Regions from separate parts of the Homo sapiens genome. Here regions 1, 2, 4, 5, 6 and 7 are each linked to region 3. The links are contacts of gene promoters, found by promoter capture Hi-C in human tissues and cell types (Jung and others, 2019). All regions are on one chromosome and are shown on one strand. Each heading gives the region's core, a stretch centred on a gene start or on the middle of the fragment in contact. The rest is flanking DNA. Distances are from core to core; before and after follow the strand shown. Region 1 overlaps ZNF18 (zinc finger protein 18). Region 2 overlaps DNAH9 (dynein axonemal heavy chain 9). Region 3 holds the start of PIRT (phosphoinositide interacting regulator of transient receptor potential channels). Region 4 overlaps DNAH9 (dynein axonemal heavy chain 9). Region 5 overlaps DNAH9 (dynein axonemal heavy chain 9). Region 6 overlaps MAP2K4 (mitogen-activated protein kinase kinase 4). Region 7 overlaps DNAH9 (dynein axonemal heavy chain 9).

Region 1 (2,700 bases), core at 145-2,644, 1.1 Mb after region 3:
CAACCCACTATAAGTTCTATGGACTAAACTGTGATCCCCCAAATTCATACGTTGAAACCCTAGCCCCCAGTATGATGGTATTTGGAGATGGGGCCTGGGGCCTTAGGGAGGGATTAGGTCTAGATGAGGTCCTAAGGGTGGAGTCCTCATGATGGGATTAGTTTCCTGTCTCCTCCTCTCCCTCTCTCACCTCCCCCTCTCCCAGTCTCTCCCTTCCTCTCCGCCTCTCCTCTCCCCAACCCCCCTCTCTGCTATGTGAAGACACAGCAAGAAAAGCGAGGTCAGCAAACCATACTGGCACCCTGATCTTGGACTTCCCAACCTCCAGAAATGTGAGAAATAAATGTTTGTTGTTTAAGCAACTTAGTCTATGGTATTTTGTTACAGCAGCCCAAGCTAAGGCAGTAATCGATATATTAATATTGAAACACAGTACATGCACACATATTTTAAACAAATATTTCCTGAAACACTACCCACCCCTACATCTGATATTTCCTCTTCAATCTTATTGTGTTTTTTTTTAACGCTGGTTGTAACTCTATCAAATGATTTCACGACTCACTAATTGGTTATGCAATGCAGTTTGAAAAATTCTGTTCCAGAAGAAATCCTTGTGAAATGGCCTGATAAATACGTTGTGTAAAATTAAAATCAAATATCTCAGCTAATGATTGCTCTCTCTGTGGTATATTAGCAAAAGAAAATAATTAATTAGATGCCACTGGGGAGAAAGAATGGCTTGCCCTACAATTCCCATCCTTGGTCCTCTTCTTCCTCTAAGGTTCTGGGATTTACTGTATATATAAAAGTGTGTGTGTGTGTGTGTGTGTGTGTGTGTGTGTGTGTGTGTAGGTTTCGCAATTAGTTTTTACGTAACTTCAATGTTTCAGAAAAAGTGTAGAAAGCAAAGAATGACTATTTTACAAGATAACAAGTTAAGATTTCTTCTTCCCTAGTCTTAAATAAATTATTTATACGAAGTATTTGTTGATGCTGCTGTTTTAAGAAGTGTTAGGTGCATAGGGATTAGATAAAACATTTTTTTCTGTTTGTTTTATGTCTAGATACTCTAACTTCTTGCTAGGAAGGGTAATAATGGCTGCTACATAATCCTTTGCAATGAAATTCTACTCTATTTGTATTGGTCTTAATTTGTGTGAATCTTAATTCTTTCAGAGAAAGAAAGCTAAAATAACAGACAAGATTAAAGGCAGCAGGTCTGATGTGTGGTCTTCCTTCCATAGTTAAATATGTGTCAACAGCCCTATAGCCAGAGATAAGTAGACTCAATCTCAATAGTTAAATCAAACCAATCAGATCATGGCTAGTTATAACCAACGTAATAGAATATTCTGCCTCCCCTGACCTCCTTCACCACCTCCCCAATCACCTCCAATTTAATGACAGGCAGTCAGAAATGATTCCAGACCAATGAAAGATTACTCACCTATGCAGGTGGGTCTTGGGATCTTCTCATTGACATGAAGGTATATTCCTGCCAGCTCTTCCCCAAATTCTATTGAATTAGTCAGGTCAGATTTGGGATGGGAAATGCCTGCTATAGAGAGAAAGATGTATGGTGGGCCTGGATGAATAGGGAAGACTGGGAGCTCAAGCTGTGTCTTTCAAAGGAGCACCCTACGCATGAGGGAAAATATGAAGGCTCTGGACACTTGCAGAAACTCACCTTAGAACAGTGTGTGGAGCTTGTAAGACACCAGTACTCACAGGATGACCTTGACAGATGGTAAAGGCCATGAAAAGAAGAGTCTAGGCAGGTGGACAGAAAGGTCTGTAGACTACCTGGCAGGCTGGTGTGAGAATCATGATGGGGATCCCACCAATGGTTGGTTGACAAGTGTGGTTTAGTAGAAAAGAGCATGGACTCAGAACCAGCCACAGCTGAGTTCCATCATAACTCAGCCCACTTATGAGCTATGTGGCAGTGGGTAAGTATTTGATCTGACACTCACTTTCATCAGGCTTAAAATGAGAATACCATCATCAATTTCATAGATTAAAGAAGTTACTCCGTGCAATGTACCCACAAACAGTTCCTGGCACACGGAATACTTTCAATACAAGGAAGTTCTTACTGTTAATTCTGCTAGCTCCAACTTGCCCCAGTTCCCAACTGTGTCCCTAACGATTTCTTTCACCTGGCGATTTTCAGTTCAGCAGATGTCTCTATAAGTGCATGGAAAATGCCTCACAGTTTTCCAGTCCTTCTACCTCCTTCCATCAGACTAACCCACACCCTCACCTCCTGAGACCATTTTCCCATAGGTCTCCAGCATGAGATCCCAGTATTGCTCCTTTTGAGTGGAATCCAGTTGTCTCCACTGTTCCTGGAAAAAAAAAAAAAAAAGCAATACAATACCATGACTCCAATGAAGGTGTTTGAACCTGCCTTCCCTGCCTAAAGGAAAGCTGAGAAGACAGAAACGTGCCATAGGATCCTGGCCATCGCAAGACCTGAGAAATCCCAGCAGAGTGGTTCAAGGGACAAAGAGGCCAAAGGGAAAACAACAGTCCCTATATCAGTGTTTCTTTCCTTGGTAAGAAAACATCTAGGCTTTACATTCTGCACCTCTTCAGGTGAATTATTTAAAAGTGGAGAACGTATAGAGGGCAGGAGCCTTTTCCATACTATTTGTTTTTATTTGGGTTTTTTTTTTTTTTTAGATGGAATCTCAC
Region 2 (2,700 bases), core at 200-2,699, 1.1 Mb after region 3:
TCTACTAAAAATGCAGAAATTAGCCAGGCGTGGCGGTGTGCACCTGTAGTCCCAGTTGCTGGGGAGGCTGAGGCAGGAGAATAGCGTGAACCTGGGAGGCGGAGCTTGCAGTGAGCCGAGATCGCACCGCTGCACTCCAGCCTGGGTGACAGAGCAAGACTCCGTCTCAAAAAAAACAAAAACAAAAAAATCAAGGTTAGGGTTTTTTTTGTTTAATCTCTTAATGTTCTTTCTCCTTCCTCCACCGCACCTCAACATGGGTAGAAGGAAATAAGGAAGGAGAGACAGGAGGGGAATGTTGAAGATGGACAATGTTTGGTAACGTTTCCAAATTCTGTGCCAGCTTGTAATCAAATGAAGTACAAAATTTCACAGAGTAAATAAGAACTTTGCCTGTTATGTAATGCAGTTCCATTACTGAGTACGCAGGTATATATCAGTAACTATCTTGAGTAGGTTTGCTGCCATTTGAAAGGCTTATGGAACTTGGGTAATGTGGCACAGCCTGTTTACCCATTCGACTTCCAATTCATTCACTCATTTTTCTTTCGAGAGCCTTTGCTGCAGTTGGTGTCATGAATCTCGGAGCTTGCCTGGGCAAAGATGCAGGGTGTGAGAGGTAGTTGTCTTTTCTTTCAGTCTGATTCAAGCAATGTTGATTGATGAGCCTCTTGGGCAAGTCTCAGCACTGCCTGCTGGAGGGTGCAGAGGAGATTGGAAAGGGAGCCTTCCCTTGCAGAAGGACAGTCTTGTGGGGAAACAGACACACACACTGATATAAAGCAGGGTGAAATTAATTAAGAGCCACATAGAGAGACGCGGGAGAAGAAAGAAGAAACAAGTATTGTGTGTGGGATAAGGAAAGCCCCAGGGAAGCAGTGGCATTGAGGGGGTTCTGGAGGAAGGGTAGGGTTGTGACAGGTGATCACAAAAGGCAGGGGCTCCTAGAGGCACAGGGCAGAGCAGCCCACGGTCTGTTCTCAGAGTTAACATGGTTTGGCTGCAGCTACAGGCCCACTCAGGTGAGCAACAGTGATAGGGTGAACTTCCAAAAGGTGACAAAACAATGATAGAAAAGTAGCTGGGACCTTTGTCTACTGGTCCCACTGCGAAATGGAAGATAAACAGAGAAATCTCCATTCAAACTTGCTGTCATGAATCCCAGACTCTCCTTAGGACCATCCCCCAAGCTGGCCTGGTCCTCAGACTCTCCAGAAGTTTTATCACATGTTCCCATCTCCACGCTCCAGTCCTACCAACCTCTAAGGGTGGGGCCTGGAAGTCCGTAATGTTTCATCACCAGCCAGGAAATTCTTATGATGACTCAAGTTTGGGAAGCACAGCATGAAGGTAAGAGGCAAAAGAAAAAAGTTAGACAGTGGTATTTGTGGCAAAATGAAGGTGCAAAGGGGATGGCAGCAGAGTTCAGAGAAGAGAGTTTTAAGTCTAGGGAATGGATAAAGCTGAGCTGGCCAGAAATGAGAACAGCAGGGAAAAGAGGCAAAACAGGTGACTTGGCAGGAGGGGTTCGCAGAGTGGTCTGGCCTGTGAGTGAGAGGCGGAGGGCCTAAGTGGGGCAAGTCCCTGAGATGGAGCAGCGAGGAATGTCAGCTCCGAGCTCTTCCCAGAACACTGGTGGAAGGCACGCTTGGCTTTGCTGACCAGCTTACCTGGCAGGGGGAAGGGGAAGAGGAAATTCTGCTTGAGGTTTTCCTTCCTCACTTTCTTAGTTTAACAATCACTTTATGCTGGGCTCAGTGGCTCATGCCTGTAATCCCAGCTCTTTGGGAGGCCGAGGCAGGTGGATTGCTTAAGGTCAGGAGTTCAAGACCAGCCTGGCCAACATGGCAAAACCCCGTCTCTACTAAAAATACAAAAATAAGCCAGGCGTGGTGGCGGGCGCCTGTAATCCCAGCTACTACGGAGGCTGAAGCAGGAGAATCGCTTTAACCTGGGATGCTATAACCTGCAGTGAGCCGACACTGTGACACTGCACTCCAGCCTGGGTGACAGAGAGAGATTCCATCTCAAAAAAAAAAAAAAAATCACTTTAAAGTTCTGGGACTGTTGGAGCTAAACGATGGGAATACACAGACATACAAAGTGGAATAACCAATATTGGAGGTGGCAAAAGGTGGGAAGGAAGGAGGGGGGTGAGGAATGAAAAATTACTTATTGGGTACAGTGTTCACTATTCAGGTGACAAGTGCACTAAAAGTGAGAATTGCACTACTATGCAATATACACATGTGAGAAAGCTGCACTTGTGGCCGGGCGCAGTGGCTCACGCCTGTAATCCCAGCACTTTGGGAGGCCGAGGCAGCTGGATCACGAGGTCAGGAGATCAAGACCATCCTGGCTAGCATGGTGAAACCCCGTCTCTACTAAAAATACAAAAAAAAAAATTAGCCGGGCGTAGTGGTGGGCACCTGGTAGTCTCAGCACTTTGGGAGGCCGAGGTGGGCGGATCAGTTGAGGTCAGGAGTTGGAGACAAGCCTGGCCAACATGGTGAAACCTCATCTCTACTAAAAAATACAAAAATTAGCCAGGCGTGGTGGCACGCACCTGTAATCCCAGCTACTTGGGAGGCTGAGGCAGGAGAATAGTTTGAACCCGGGAGGTGGAGGTTGCAGCGAGCTGAGATCATGCCACTGCACTCCAGTCTGGGTGACAGAGCAAGAGTCCATCTCAAAAAAAAA
Region 3 (2,700 bases), core at 90-2,589:
CTGGGAGGCTGGGCCCAGCGAGGGGAGTCTGGGGGAGAAGCGGGGAAGGCAGGATGGAAGTGGTGGGAATAACACCATGTATTATTCCTGTGGAAGACCCAGAGTGGTAAGAAGTGGAGGGTCCTCCTGTTTCCCTCACGGAGTCCCCATTAAGGCCCCACCCAGCTCCAGCTTGCCAGTGGTCATCCCCACGGTCCCTTATCTTCTCTGGCGGTGCTGTCTTCCCCTCACCAGGACATTCAGTTGGTGACTGTCCACCCCTCTGATAAGGTGAGTGGGGGCCAAGTGTCTGGGCTAATAGAAGCTAGAGGGTTTCTGAGTAAGCCGCTGCTGTCACCATGGCCATGGCCACCCATCTGTCACCTGCTCATAGCGCTTCTAGGAAGGGAAGTTTCCCAAAGGTCACAGTCAACCTAGAGGGTGCCACCCACCTCCCTTGTTGGGCCACCCGGCTGGTGCCCAGACCCTGGCCAGTGACAGGGTAGAAAAATAGCTCGGGCGATTGCGTGTGTGACCACGGCTGGCTTTACCCGGATGCAGGGTTCTCACGGCACACAGTTGCCTGACTGAGCCACGTCTTTGTCCGTGTTTGCATGTGCCTGCCTTGTTCCCCCTGTCTGAGATAAAACTCCCGAGGCAGCCAACGCACTCCACCTTGTTTTTCTGGCACCTGCCCCAGACACCTGCCACAGCTGCAGGAGGAAGACATTGGCAGCTGCAGAGGTCTGACACAGGGTGCTCAGGAGGACGGCTGGGGTCCGAGATTCCACCCATGTACTCTGGGGTCTGGGGGTGGCCTTGCACTTTCCTGTCTGGCTTTTTTGCTTCTTCCACTTAGATTTGGGAGGAGAGTCCCTGCCCAGCCCTTCCCACAATGGCTGCTAAGAGTGAAGGCTGGATGCTATAGACGCAGGACTGAAGCAGCTCTCTGCCCACAAATTCCCTTCTTCCCAGTACACAGCAAGGGGCGGCCCCCCTTCCTCTGGCCACCACTGTCTGCCAAGACCCTCAGCAGGCAGTGCCTCCAGGCTGACTTCACCCCCTCCCAGGGCATAGCCCCCTTTTCTCCGCTTGTTGTTCATGCTTGCCTTCCAACCCCAGTTTAAAGACAACACGCTCCAAAGCAAAGTTAAAATCTGCTCCTTCCTTCAGCGAGATGGAAGGAAGGGCAGAAGGAAACATTCCCTCCTTACTTACTGTCCTCGATGTCCCAGGGGAGGATGGGGGACCTGGGAATCACTTGGTGCTCGTGCAAGGAGGAAGCCGGCAATGAGTTTCTGCTCAAGTCCATGCCAGCCAGAGAAAGCCACCCTGACCACGTCCAGAAGTCAGTGTGTTGTGAATCCCAGCAACTGAGCAGGCTCCAGCAGGGATGGATGAGCTCACCAGGCAATGGCCTAATGGGTTAACTCTTTGTGAGCTGCTGGCATGGGTCCTCGGACTGTGGCTTTCTCAGCTCTGCTCAGCCACAATTAGATGAATCTTGTGAAAAATTCATGATGCTTCTCTGCAGTCTGTCTTCAAGTTTCATGGAGGCGTGCGTTCCGTTGGTGCCTGGGCAGGGCAGCTTCTCCTGACCCAGGCTCAGAAATCAGAGGACCTGGAGTTTCTGGGTTGGTGGAGGTGTGTAGTGGCCATGGTGGTGGGGATGAGTTGCCAAAGAGTGGATCAGACCCTCCGGCTGACTCAGGCTACACTGGCTCTGTTCAGTGCAGGCCTTAATAATTTGATCTGGGAACTCTCTGTGTTCTGGATGTTGGAGGGGGCACATGCAGACTTAGAAAACATCCTTGGTTGCAAGATGGCAGGGACACTTCTTGGAACTTTCCAATGCACGGGTGGGCACCCTATGTTACAAACTGCCAGGAGCCCACAACACGACTTACCTCCATCCCAGGCCTGACATCTCAAATAGAGGCAAAAGAGCTTGTTCCCCATCGCTCTTCCAATCATTCCTCATGGTGCCCTGTTGCTTTTTATGGGATGCCTGCTGCCACAATGATGAGAAGAGAATGATGCAAATCAGTGCAAGGAGGATGAAAAGGTTTTCTCCTCTATAAACCTTTACCAGACTGTGCTTCGGGAAGCTGGGTGTGAGCTGTTGAGTGGCCAGTTCTCAAGATGCTGACGGATACACTGAGGTCAGCAAAATTGCCTATGATTCTGGAAGGCATGCTGGCTCCTGCCCTGGCCCACACTAACCTGAGAACGTGGGCAGCTGTTGTTCCTCAGGATAACTGGTGGGTGGGCATCCTTGCTACTGGGAACAGTACCCTGAGGGGCTTCCTCTGTGGTCTGCCGGGAGGGCTTTCCTAGGAGCCATCCAAGGAAGCTGCTGTCAAGGCAGGTATGAGACTCTCCCATATTTGGCATCTTGAGTTCCTCATCTGTGCAATGAGCAGGAGATTCTGAGCCTAGAAGGCTCTGTAGAGGTTGCTGTGTGATCCATGCCTAGAGAAGCAGAGAGCTAGGAGGATGAGCCTGTCCCCTGAGCTGCTGTGAGGGATCAGGCTGAGTACGCCCTCTGTCCTCTGTGAAGATGAGCGTCTCTGCTCAGGGCAATGAGCAGGGAGAGGCCTGCCTTGAGTGTCCAGGGGAACTTGACTTTGAAGGTTTTTGAGGATGTGAGTTGCTTTGCCTTAGGTGCCTCTGACTTTATACTCAAATCAGTTTGTAAAACCAAGTGGCCTGGCTCGCAGA
Region 4 (2,700 bases), core at 57-2,556, 1.1 Mb after region 3:
GTGCCCTTATAAGAAGACACACAGGTCGGGCACAGTGGCTCACACCTGTAATCCCAGCACTTTGGGAGGCCGAGGCGGGCAGATCACCTGAGGTCAGGAGTTTGAGACCAGCCTGACCAACATGGAGAAACCCCATCTCTACTAAAAATACAAAATTAGCCGGGCATGGTGGTGCATGCCTGTTATCCCAGCTACTCGGAATGCTGAAGCAGGAGAATCGCTTGAACCCGGGAGGTGGAGGTTGCAGTGAGCCGAGATCGCACCATTGCATTCCAGCCTGGGCAACAAGAGCAAAACTCCGTCTCAAAAAAAAAAAAAGAAGACAACGACCACATAGATGGGCACAGATATGGGAACAATAGACACTGGATTATTAGAGGGTGTAGGGAGAGGTGGGGGTTAATAAAAACTAACTATCCGGTACTATGCTCACTAACTAGATGAAGGGATCCATACTCCAAACCTCAGCATCATACAATATTCCCATGTAACAAATCTGCATATGTATCCCCTGTATCTAAGAGTTGAAATTTTTTTTAAAAAAAAGAAACTAAAAGGAAAAGAGATGGAAAATTTTGTTGAGACATGTTTTATAATGCTTACCATTCTAGTGGATATAGCAAGTAAAGTCTCATGGAGTATATTAGCAGTAGGAAATGTATTCATTCATTCCATATAGGCTTGCAGTTAAACAAATTACCTCAAAAAAACAAAACAAAGAAGACCATGTAGAGACACAGAAGAGAATTCCCTATGAAGACAGAGGCAGAATTGGAGTGATGTATCTACAAGCCGAGGAATTCCAGGGATTACCAGCAACCATCAGAAGCTAGGAAAGGTATGGGATGGTTTCTGCTTCAGAACCTCCAGGAGGACCAACTCTGCCCATACTTTGACTTAGGACTTCTGGCCTCCAGAACTGTGAGATAATATGTTGTTTCAAGCCATCAAGTTTGTGGCATTTTATTATGCCAGCCCTAGGAAAGCAATTCAAGAGCCAACAGAAAGGACAGTAAAGTAGGGTAATGTTTAGAAAGCCTGAATCTTGAGAAGGAAGTTGACTTCCCTCTCTCCACCTGAACATTTGCACAAGATTCTGTCAGTGGAGATCATATATGGATTGCATTAGGTATAAGGTGGCCTAGAGCAAGCCACAGCTATTAATAGAATCCTCCAAACCACCAAAATGAGAGAAGTACCAAAAGGAAAGTAGGCAAGAAGCTCAGAAGGAAAGTCAGTGACACTGGAAGTGGGGGAATGATATCAGTTTCAATTGTCAACCTCCCATTTTTCATACCTCATTGTAAATAATAATAAAAACTTCCCCAAAATCAATACTTCTTCACCAAAAGCTGTTGTTCTCAAAGGTTTTATCCCAGAAAGATGTCGGCAAAAATGGAAGAGTCAGGACCTCCTAAAATCCTCTCCTCCATAAAACAATGAGAACATTCACAAAAACTGAGTCAGAATCAACTTTCTTAGAATTCTGGAAATTAACCAAAGGCTTTCAGCAATCCAAGAAGTGTTTACTCAAGCAAAACAGCTGAATCTCAGTAGGAAGAACAGTCTATGGCCTTTTAACTTGTCTATTCCCATCTCAACCCAACCCCTAGCTTGGAGGTTACCTATAAAACCAACAGACCACAATCACAGTGAAACCAGTAGCCTGGAAACCACTGGAAGGGGCAAAATGGGGTTGGAGCACCTTCAAAGCCCTGTTCCCCACCCCCCCACAAAAAAACTGTCATTATTTTGCCTGTCCAGGGATTCCCTGGACTCACAAGTCTTTATCTCACCTGAGTTGGAACTCACCCAGGGCAACAGTCTTTTTCCCCAGGGCATTTGTTGAAGACAATCAAAGACAACTGCTTAACACTGCAGTTTGTCTGAAGCAGTAGATAATAGTGGTGCAAACAGTAGGCTAATCAAAAAGCTTAAAAGGGCAAGTCGGAGAATGAGATGGCCATAGGGGGCTTTGAAAACCCCTGACATGTTCCTGGAAATCTAGGCCATGCCTATGTGCAGATCTGTGCACCCATCCACAGCTGTGGACATGCTCAAGAGAGTTGAGAAGGCAGTACACTCTAGCTAACCTTGAGGTTCTAGGAAAACAGGGGAGTGAAATCTAAGCAGAGTTTTAAACTGCCTGGCTAAGCACTGAAGGTGTGCTCCAACACTTGCACACAGCCACTCAGCCAAGACTTTGTGACTTATTGGTTCTAGGCATTTGAGAAAATCTGTCCAATTATTTGGTGACCTCTAAGCTAACAGAGCAGGCCACTTCAGTGGCCATACTTGACAAAGAATATAGACTTTACAGAATCAGTTCAGAAAAGTCACTAAACAAACCCTGGCAAGAGAGAGAATATGATTTGCAGAGTGGCCACATTATTTAAAATGTCCAAGTTTTCAACAAAAAAATTATGATATACAAAGAAACAAAAAGCAATGGCCCATACACAAGGAAGAAAGCAATCAACGCAAACTATTCCTGAGGGGGATCAAATATTGGACTTGCTAGACAAAGACTTTAAATCAGCTATTTTAAAGATGTTCCAATAACCAAAAGAAACCATGTCTAAATAACTAAAGAAAATTGTGTGAACTATGTATCACTGAATAGAGAATACAGAGAGAAAAATTATATATGTTTTTAAAAAAATAAAGTAGAAACTCTGGATTTGAAAAATATAATACCTA
Region 5 (2,700 bases), core at 7-2,506, 1.1 Mb after region 3:
GATAACATGGTTTTCTAGGAAGAGCAAAGGAGCTCCCAAGCAGGCTGCAAATGGCTTGAGAGTGCCAGAAAAGGAGACTGCTTTGGGTATTATGATGCTTAGGGGGTGGGGCCAGGGTGAGGGTGTCTGTGCATGGGCAGGGGCTTGCCTGGTACAACTTCCCTCCAGCACCAAAAGAGAGAGTGCCCAGGGCAGAAGGGGAAGAGGAAAGGATGAGGTTTAAAAGCTATCAGCAGTCAAACATCTAAAAACGAAGTCAAGCTCTTTATTAAAGATGTCAACTCTGCAAGTATCTCTAAGTCAGGGGTGTTCAATCTTTGGCTTCCCCGGGCCACACTGGAAGAAGAAGAATTGTCTTGGACCACACATAAAACACACTAACACTGGGGCCGGGTGTGGTGGCTCACACCCGTAATCCCAACTCTTTGGGAGGTCGAGGCGGGTGGATCGCCTGAGGTCAGGAGTTCAAGACCAGCCCGACCAATATGGTGAAACCCCGTCTCTACTAAAAATACAAAAATTAGCCAGGCGTGGTGGTCTGCACCTGTAGTCCCAGCTACTCGGGAGGCTGAGACAGGAGAATTGCTTGAATCCAGGAGGTGGAGGTTGCAGTGAGCCAAGATCATGCCACTGCGCTCCAGCCTGGGCAACAGAGCGACACTCCGTCTCAAAACAAAACAAAACAAAAAACACGCTAACACTAATGATAGTTGATGAGCTAAAATATATATCTGTCACAAAAAAACTCATAATGTTTCATGAAAGTTTATGAATTTGTATTGGGCCACCTTCAAAGCCGTCCTAGGCCGCATGCAGCCCAAGGGCCATGGGTTGGACAAGCTTGCTCTAAGTGGTTTACAAAAGGATGGGAGGTCTACATGTTCTACATTAGGAAGGATGGCCCAAGGGAGGTTGCAGGTTTTGAACTGGTCTTTCACAACCTGTAGAGCCTTAACATATAACAATCGTGACCAGCACAAGAAAAGGAAGAAGTGGAATGTGGCAGAAAAGAAAACAGGACTTTACAGATGGTGGAAGTAGTATGAACAAGGAAATGAGTTGGGAATGAGTCAGGCACATTTCCAAGGTTGGGAGCAGATATGCTCAGAGTGGGACAGAGTAGGAGGACACATGACTTACTGGACAGATTGAAGAGAGGCACCAGATGAAGAGATCTGGCTACCAAGTTATACATTTGGACTGAATCCTCATAGAAATAGACAACCCATGGGCATTTTAAGAGTTGGCGTTAACACAGAGTACATGAATAATTCTAGAAACATTTTGAGAGGTGAACTGACAGGGTTTGGTGGCAGAGTGAGTTTGAGGAGGAAAGGGAGAAGTCACTAACTTTAGGTGTCCAAGCTTCAAGACCAGAATAACCATAATGCCCCTTCTTGCCCCTCTTTTCCATGTACACACCTACAGGCAGGTGTGGCTCAGTCTCTGCTGCTAATAATATCCCAAACATTTTATGCGCTAAATCTTGCATGTTATTGGGGCACTTTGCTAAGCTGCTCAAAATTCTTCCTCTTTCTTGATTTTTCCTGGGGGATGATCCAAAGCTCTAGACAAGAGTATAAATGAGACAGAATTGTGTAGATAAGACCATCTGGCCCCTCAATCCCCCAACACAATGCAAATGACAGCTTTCTGGAGAAACTGCATTTCAGATTCTCTGAAATTTCCCAGGTACTTTCATCAATGGAAGAATTCTCTAATCTGGATCGGGACATAGAGGGATCTGCTAAGAGCTGGAAAAAGTTTGTGGAGTCCGAATGTCCTGAGAAAGAGAAGCTCCCACAGGAGTGGAAGAACAAGACAGCCCTGCAGCGCCTCTGCATGCTGAGAGCCATGCGGCCCGACCGGATGACCTATGCTTTGCGGTAGGAAACAGGGTGGTGGAAGGCCCAGCATAGGCATGGGGCAAGGGCAACCTCAGGACAACTGGACCAGCAGGGCTGAGCTCCAAAGCCATGTGTATATAGTAGTTTCCTGGAGCTAGAGGGTGGGAATAGAAATTAACTAAACAGGCCAGGCGCGGTGGCTCACGCCTGTAATCCCAGCACTTCGGGAGGCCGAGGCAGGTGGATCACAAGGTCAGGAGTTCAAGACCAGCCTGGCCAAGATGGTGAAACCCCGTCTCTACTGAAAATACAAAACTTAGCCTGGCATGGTGACAGGCACCTGTAATCCCAGCTACTCTGGAGGCTGAGGCAGGGAATTGCTTGAACCCGGGAGGCAGAGGTTGCAGTGACCCGAGATTGCGTCACTACACTCCAGCCTGGGCGACAGAGTGAGACTTCATCTCAAAAGAAGTAAAAAATAAAAAAAAAAAAGGAAATTAAATAGCCATAGCCATAAAGAATCTCACTGGTGTGATATAAATGTTCTAAAACGGGGTTATGGTAAAGACTGTACAACTTGGTAAATGTATTAAGTTATTGAATAGTACACTTAAAATGGGAAAATCCTATGGTATGTCAATTACACCTCAATAAAGTTATTTTTAAAAGAAAAAAGAAGTTGTAGGCCGTGGAGTCTATACTGGATAGGAAAGGAGTGATTAGAGTAAGGGCATGATAGAAAAATACCAGGGAGGGCCCGGGCGCGGTGGCTCACGCCTGTAATCCCAGCACTTTGGGAGGCTGAGGCGGCGGATCGCTTAAGGTCAGGAGTTTGAGACCAGCCTGGCCAACA
Region 6 (2,700 bases), core at 174-2,673, 1.2 Mb after region 3:
GAAAGGAGGTAAGAATATAGTTAGGGAGACCTGATAAAACTATGGTAATGTAGGTAAAGCGTAATAGTCACCTATCATGACTTCAATAGTATTAAATTGATGACAGTACATGTAGAGAGACTGTAAAGACATTTTGGAAGTAATTAATAAATATTGGTGATAATTTGAATGTAGATGATGACAAGGAGGAAGGTGTTCATAGTGACTTGTAGAATTCTGGCTTGAATTAATGGGTTTAGTTGCGATTACTGTGATGGAGACTACTGGGTATGGAGCATCTGTAAATAGGGGTCATAGGGCAAGATCGAGTTTTAGATAATATTTAAGTTTGAGGGACCTGTGACATTTTATTAGGGATATCAAAACATACATATATATATTATATATATATATAGCGTGTGTGTATATGTATTTATGTATACATGTGTTTCTGTGCTTATGTGCATGTATCACATACTCTGGTGTTGAAAATATGAGTCTGGTGCCAGAAGTGAAGTTGTAGATTGGAGATAAAAAGTTGAAAATTGCTGCCATATAGATGAAAGGGTTGCCTAGGAAGAGAGTGAGAATGTATTTTGATGAGAAAATTGTGTCCAGGGCTGAGCCCCAAGAAAATCTAACATTTAGAGGTTGGATAGAAGAGGAGGGACAGGCAAAAATTAAAAGATGCTTGATAATTAGGAAGCAAACTGGTAGTGCATGATGTTATAGAAATCTAGCATTGTTTCAAAGTGCAGTTGGGAAGGAATTGTGGTTGGCTATGTCTAATGTTCTGAGAATGCTAGTAAAGCTACCTTGTTGGCAAAAACTCCTGAGATACACTTTAAACTACTCTTAATTTCTTACTTACTTGGGAAGAGGTTTTAGCTGCCACTGGAAATTGGGGCCTAAACAGGGAAAGGATCTCATGAAAACATGTAACCTATAGATTTAGGGCAGTTTTCCTTACCTTTTCTTGAAGAAGCATAGCCCAGAAAAACTGTTCTAAGGGTAAACTTAGAGTACAACTGACACAGGATCAGCTCTTAGGAAACAGTCAATAGCAACATGATGCAAACATGAATGTTTGTCTTGTCCTCTTTAATGTTACTCTTTTCTGTGGTGATAAAACATTTCTTTGTATGTCATAAATCAGTACTACTTCAGAATACTGCAGACTTATCTAATTTGTCTAATACATTCTGTTCACTAAATATGAGTATCAGAATTTGAAATTTTCTATTTAGAATGTTTGAGCCATTCTTCTGGACATTTCATTTTTCAGTTTTTCCTTTTGCCTCATCTTAGATCACAGCAAAGATACTCATTTGTTGGTAGTGCCAGGAAGCAGGCAGTTTCCATGGTAACTGACAGACCGAGTTTACTGTGGAAATTTCCGGAATTAACAGAGCTGCATTGCAGAAGGATGCATAAAGCAGTATTCATCTAGAGATCGTAACAGTACGGACACAGAAGAACAGTTGCAGTGATGTGCAGGGTATGTCTTACCTTTATTTTCCTGTCTAAGGAAGATTAGTCATATATATATATATATATATATATATATATATATATATATATATATATATATATATATATATGCATGCTGAGGAGACAGTAAAACAGCTTGGGGCGTTTTAGTATATGCTGGCTTGATACAGTCAAAGTTGCTTAGGAAAAAGAAGGAAGAAATGATTTGGGAAAGAAGGTATATTTGATAGCATTGGGAAGAAATCAAGATCAGATGATCGAGGTAGAAGAATGTGATAGTGAAATAAGAGGAGAAAACATACTTCAAACTAATTAAATAATAAAAGGTTCTTACGGATAGTGGTTCTAGGCACAAGAAGATATTTATTTATTTATTGAAGGAAAATAGTAGACATTGTCAAGTTTGAGAAATCAAGTTCTCATGTGCAGGAAAAAGAAATCTGTTAAGATAATTAGCTATTACTTGCTGAAAGATAGGTAGATATGAGAGATGTCCAGGATATTAAACAAGGAGGTTTGCTGCCATCTTAGCGTACTTACCTAAGTGATGAGAGAATCCTAGAAGGGTTTCTGCCCCTAATTCCACTCTCTGTTGATTGGTGGGCCATTTTCAAGAAAAATTCTGAAATGTATCTTGAGATTAAATTCTGGAAACAGAACTATAGGATTTGGGCAGATAATTGAAGGTGCTTATCATATAGAGCATAATTATAAATGTAAAAGAGAAAAAGGATATAGAAAATATGATTTAGATTATTTGCATGATAGATGCAATTTAGGTTGCTAGATACCATTTGGTATCATTTATATCATGTAGTCAGCAAACTACAGCTCATGAGCTGAATCCATCCTGTTTGCTTGTTTTTGTAAGTAAAGTTTTATTGGAACATAGCCACACCCATCTGGCTGCATAGTTGCAGGAGACTAGTGGCTTGCAAAGCCTAAAATATTTGCTATCTGGTTCTTTACAGAAAAAGGTTGTGACTCATGATTTAGATGGTGTACTGGATTTTTCAAGGCTTCTGTGAGATTACCACAAACTTGGTGGCTTAAAACAACAGAAATTTATTCTCTCACAGTTCTAGAGGCCAGAAATCTGAAGGTGTTGGCAGGGCCATGCTTCTCCCGAAGGTTCTGGGGGAGGATCCCCCCTTTCTTTCAGCTTCTGGTACTGCTGCTCTTCCTTGGCTTGTGGCAGCATAACCGTAATCTCTATGGTCTTCTTCCCTG
Region 7 (2,700 bases), core at 31-2,530, 1.1 Mb after region 3:
CTTTTTTATGAAGGTGGAGAAGAAATAGCCTCCAAGTAGCAAGAAAACACTAGAAAAAATGTTCCCCTTCCAACGCCAATGCCATAGGGGTATGGAACTAGGGAGAGGACTGTAGGAGTTGTGATGTCCTCAGAGAGACTAGAGGTCAGTGACGCACACCGTAAAGATGTTAAAAGAGGTTGACAGTGGGGCATAGTTCCAGGTGACACCACCATATGTAGAGCTGGAAGGAAAGTCAGAAAAGGAGAGATGAGTCACAAGCAGTAGGGGTGGAGGCATGGAAGCACCAGCATACAACAATCTGAAGGTGAAATCCTGAGACACTGGAGGGACTTGCTCAAGGCCCAATAAGCCATCTGAGAGCCTCACAGTTGCAAAGGGAAAGACCTCGCAAGGTTACCTCCGCACCCATGAGGCTCACATGGGATGCGGCCACCTTTGGCTGAGTGTTCAGTTAGTGAGAATCCCATCCATTTTTCCCCTTCTCAATGTTTCCAAGATCCATTTCTTTCTTCTCCGCCTCATTGTCATGCCTCAAGCCCAGATTAATGCAGACTGATCCCAGCCGGGCTCTGCAGTGCTAAACTTTGCCCGTGATGATCCCTCCAGTCTGGAATTTTCAAACTAATCTTTATTAAATAACCTCTTTGCCCATATCCTTCTGTTGCTAATAAACAAAATAAACAGGCCCTTTTGTGAGCAGAAATGTCACAGAAGACATCTAAAAGTCCCAACACTTTTTATCCTGGTATTTTCTCTGGAATGAATTGTTTATCTCCCCACTTCCAAAGCTGACATCAAATGTTTTGCCAACTAAGATTTATAATTTAATAACGGTGTTTCTTGGGTTCATCTCAGTTAAGTCTCCAATATCTATTTCTTACTACAAAAAGTCATCATCTTGCGTTGTCCTGTACATTTCAATGACAGTCTATACATTGTTTATATTTAAAAGAAATATTCAATATGAACACTTGTTTCCAAAAATTTTCTTGCAGAAGTATCAAACTACATCTTCACTTTTAGTTCCTCTGAAACTAAATTTTTTTTAAGTATGGATTTTTATTATTTCTTTTTCGATTTCTCCCCTTTTGTCTACTTCACCTTGCTAGAAAAATCACTTAATGATTCCTTCATGGTATTATACATTTTTATGATCCTTTTATCTAAAGAATATTATGTAATTTCTCTACACTTTATTGGATTGTGCTAAGAGCTAATGTTCTCTATATTAGGGTCATTTCTTTGTGTTGTTTCCCTTGGGCGTGGAGAGCAGCTGAAGCCCACTGGTCTTGCTTCAGTGGTATGGCTGCCACATTTGTGTGTGTGGTCATTCTCTTAATCCATCTGCAACACCAGCAACCCTTATATACATCCAACAGAAAATTCACACCTACACAACTAAACAGCTTCATGTCTTGCCCCTCTTCACTCTAATTCGTGCAAAATGATGAGATAACTCTTTTCTATGTGTTGGGAATGATAGGAGAGGAGGTTAATAGGGCATAAAGTACAGGAAGCCAGAACTACCTGAATCCTGCCCCTACTGGCCACACCTCCCAGTAAAGTTCCAGAGAAGACACAATATTTATTCAGAGGACAAGGCAAGCCACAAAGGACCACACCCATATGCTTGCTACTCTCTCACCCTTCTCTCATCAGCACTCCCTAGAATGGTGGACCCATATCTGGTCTGCAGATAAGACACATAAAGAATAGCATCAGCAATCCTACCCCTCTTTGGGAATTAAGTGAAGAGGGAAGAGTGAAGTGATTTTGGTCTGAACAAGTGCTTCTTTTTTTTTTGTTTGTTTTGGTTTTTGTTTTGTTTTGTTTTGAGACTGAGTTTCGCTCTTGTTGCCCAGGCTGGAGTGCAATGGCGTGATCTCGTCTCACTGCAACCTCCGCCTCCTGGGTTCAAGTGATTCTCCTGCCTCAGCCTCCCTAGTAGCTGGGATTACAGGCACCTCCCACCACACCCAGCTAATTTTTTGTATTTTTAGTAAAGATGAGGTTTCACTATGTTGGCCAGGCTGGTCTTGAACTCCTGACCTCAGGTGATCCACCTGCTGCCTCAGCCTCCCAAAGTGCTGGGATTACAGGAGTGAGCCAGTGGCGCAATCTCGGCTCATTGCAAGGTCCGCCTCCTGGGTTCACGCCATTCTCCTGCCTCAGCCTCCCGAGTAGCTGGGACTACAGGCGCCCACCACCACGCCCAGCTAATTTTTTGTATTTTTAGCAGAGATGGGGTTTCACTGTGTTAGCCAGGATGGTCTCGATCTCCTGACCTGGTGATCCGCTCGCCTCGGCCTCCCAAAGTGCTGGGATTACAGGCATGAGCCACTGCGCCCGGCTCAAGTGCTTCCTTTTATATGACAATAAAAAGCTGGAAGAAGTAGCCCCCTGTGAAGGAAAAGGGTCAGTATATGAGGTTTCGGTTATAGATTTGGGCATGCCCGTGTTTGAGGGGTGATCTGAGCGTGTGCATTTCCTTATGAACATCAAACATCCATCATTAGACACAAGAAATAATAATGACGCCTCCATCCTCCTTTTAGGAAGAAAACTTGGATACACCTTCAACAATCAGAACTTTCACAACGTGTCTTTGGGGCAAGGACAGGAAGTGGTGGCTGAGGCTGCGCTGGACCTCGCTGCCAAGAAAGGTCACTGGGTTATTTTGCAGGTATGTTCCTCTAC

The links. Contacts are between HindIII fragments. The study calls those that stand out against the background at their distance.
Region 1: a fragment that was not itself captured here is called in contact with the fragment with the promoter of PIRT in region 3 in 1 of the 25 tissues and cell types used here (dorsolateral prefrontal cortex).
Region 2: a contact is called between a fragment that was not itself captured here and the fragment with the promoter of PIRT in region 3, in 1 of the 25 tissues and cell types used here (dorsolateral prefrontal cortex).
Region 4: a contact is called between a fragment that was not itself captured here and the fragment with the promoter of PIRT in region 3, in 2 of the 25 tissues and cell types used here (dorsolateral prefrontal cortex and spleen).
Region 5: a fragment that was not itself captured here is called in contact with the fragment with the promoter of PIRT in region 3 in 1 of the 25 tissues and cell types used here (dorsolateral prefrontal cortex).
Region 6: a fragment that was not itself captured here is called in contact with the fragment with the promoter of PIRT in region 3 in 1 of the 25 tissues and cell types used here (dorsolateral prefrontal cortex).
Region 7: a contact is called between a fragment that was not itself captured here and the fragment with the promoter of PIRT in region 3, in 2 of the 25 tissues and cell types used here (dorsolateral prefrontal cortex and lymphoblastoid cells).

What each region holds. Positions count from the first base shown.
Region 1 is chr17:11,981,847-11,984,546 of GRCh38, forward strand. It overlaps ZNF18 (zinc finger protein 18), which reads right to left. Exons shown (of 7, transcript NM_001303281.2): 5 at 2,267-2,351; 6 at 1,451-1,561. Among named protein-coding and RNA genes, the nearest start is that of ZNF18, 14 kb to the right of the region's middle. The HindIII fragment of the contact is 3,173 bases long and covers 1-2,700 here.
Region 2 is chr17:11,943,509-11,946,208 of GRCh38, forward strand. All of the region lies in intron 67 of DNAH9 (dynein axonemal heavy chain 9), which reads left to right. Among named protein-coding and RNA genes, the nearest start is that of ZNF18, 53 kb to the right of the region's middle. The HindIII fragment of the contact is 6,646 bases long and covers 1-2,700 here.
Region 3 is chr17:10,836,748-10,839,447 of GRCh38, forward strand. It overlaps PIRT (phosphoinositide interacting regulator of transient receptor potential channels), which reads right to left and starts at 1,340. Exons shown (of 2, transcript NM_001101387.2): 1 at 1,198-1,340. RefSeq lists an enhancer at 151-652 and a silencer at 2,349-2,573. The HindIII fragment of the contact is 18,169 bases long and covers 1-2,700 here.
Region 4 is chr17:11,963,130-11,965,829 of GRCh38, forward strand. All of the region lies in intron 68 of DNAH9 (dynein axonemal heavy chain 9), which reads left to right. Among named protein-coding and RNA genes, the nearest start is that of ZNF18, 33 kb to the right of the region's middle. The HindIII fragment of the contact is 5,086 bases long and covers 1-2,700 here.
Region 5 is chr17:11,901,027-11,903,726 of GRCh38, forward strand. It overlaps DNAH9 (dynein axonemal heavy chain 9), which reads left to right. Exons shown (of 69, transcript NM_001372.4): 60 at 1,693-1,886. Among named protein-coding and RNA genes, the nearest start is that of ZNF18, 95 kb to the right of the region's middle. The HindIII fragment of the contact is 3,725 bases long and covers 1-2,700 here.
Region 6 is chr17:12,068,373-12,071,072 of GRCh38, forward strand. All of the region lies in intron 2 of MAP2K4 (mitogen-activated protein kinase kinase 4), which reads left to right. Among named protein-coding and RNA genes, the nearest start is that of MIR744, 12 kb to the right of the region's middle. The HindIII fragment of the contact is 5,380 bases long and covers 1-2,700 here.
Region 7 is chr17:11,921,256-11,923,955 of GRCh38, forward strand. DNAH9 (dynein axonemal heavy chain 9) reads left to right here. Exons shown (of 69, transcript NM_001372.4): 62 at 2,559-2,686. Among named protein-coding and RNA genes, the nearest start is that of ZNF18, 75 kb to the right of the region's middle. The HindIII fragment of the contact is 7,416 bases long and covers 1-2,700 here.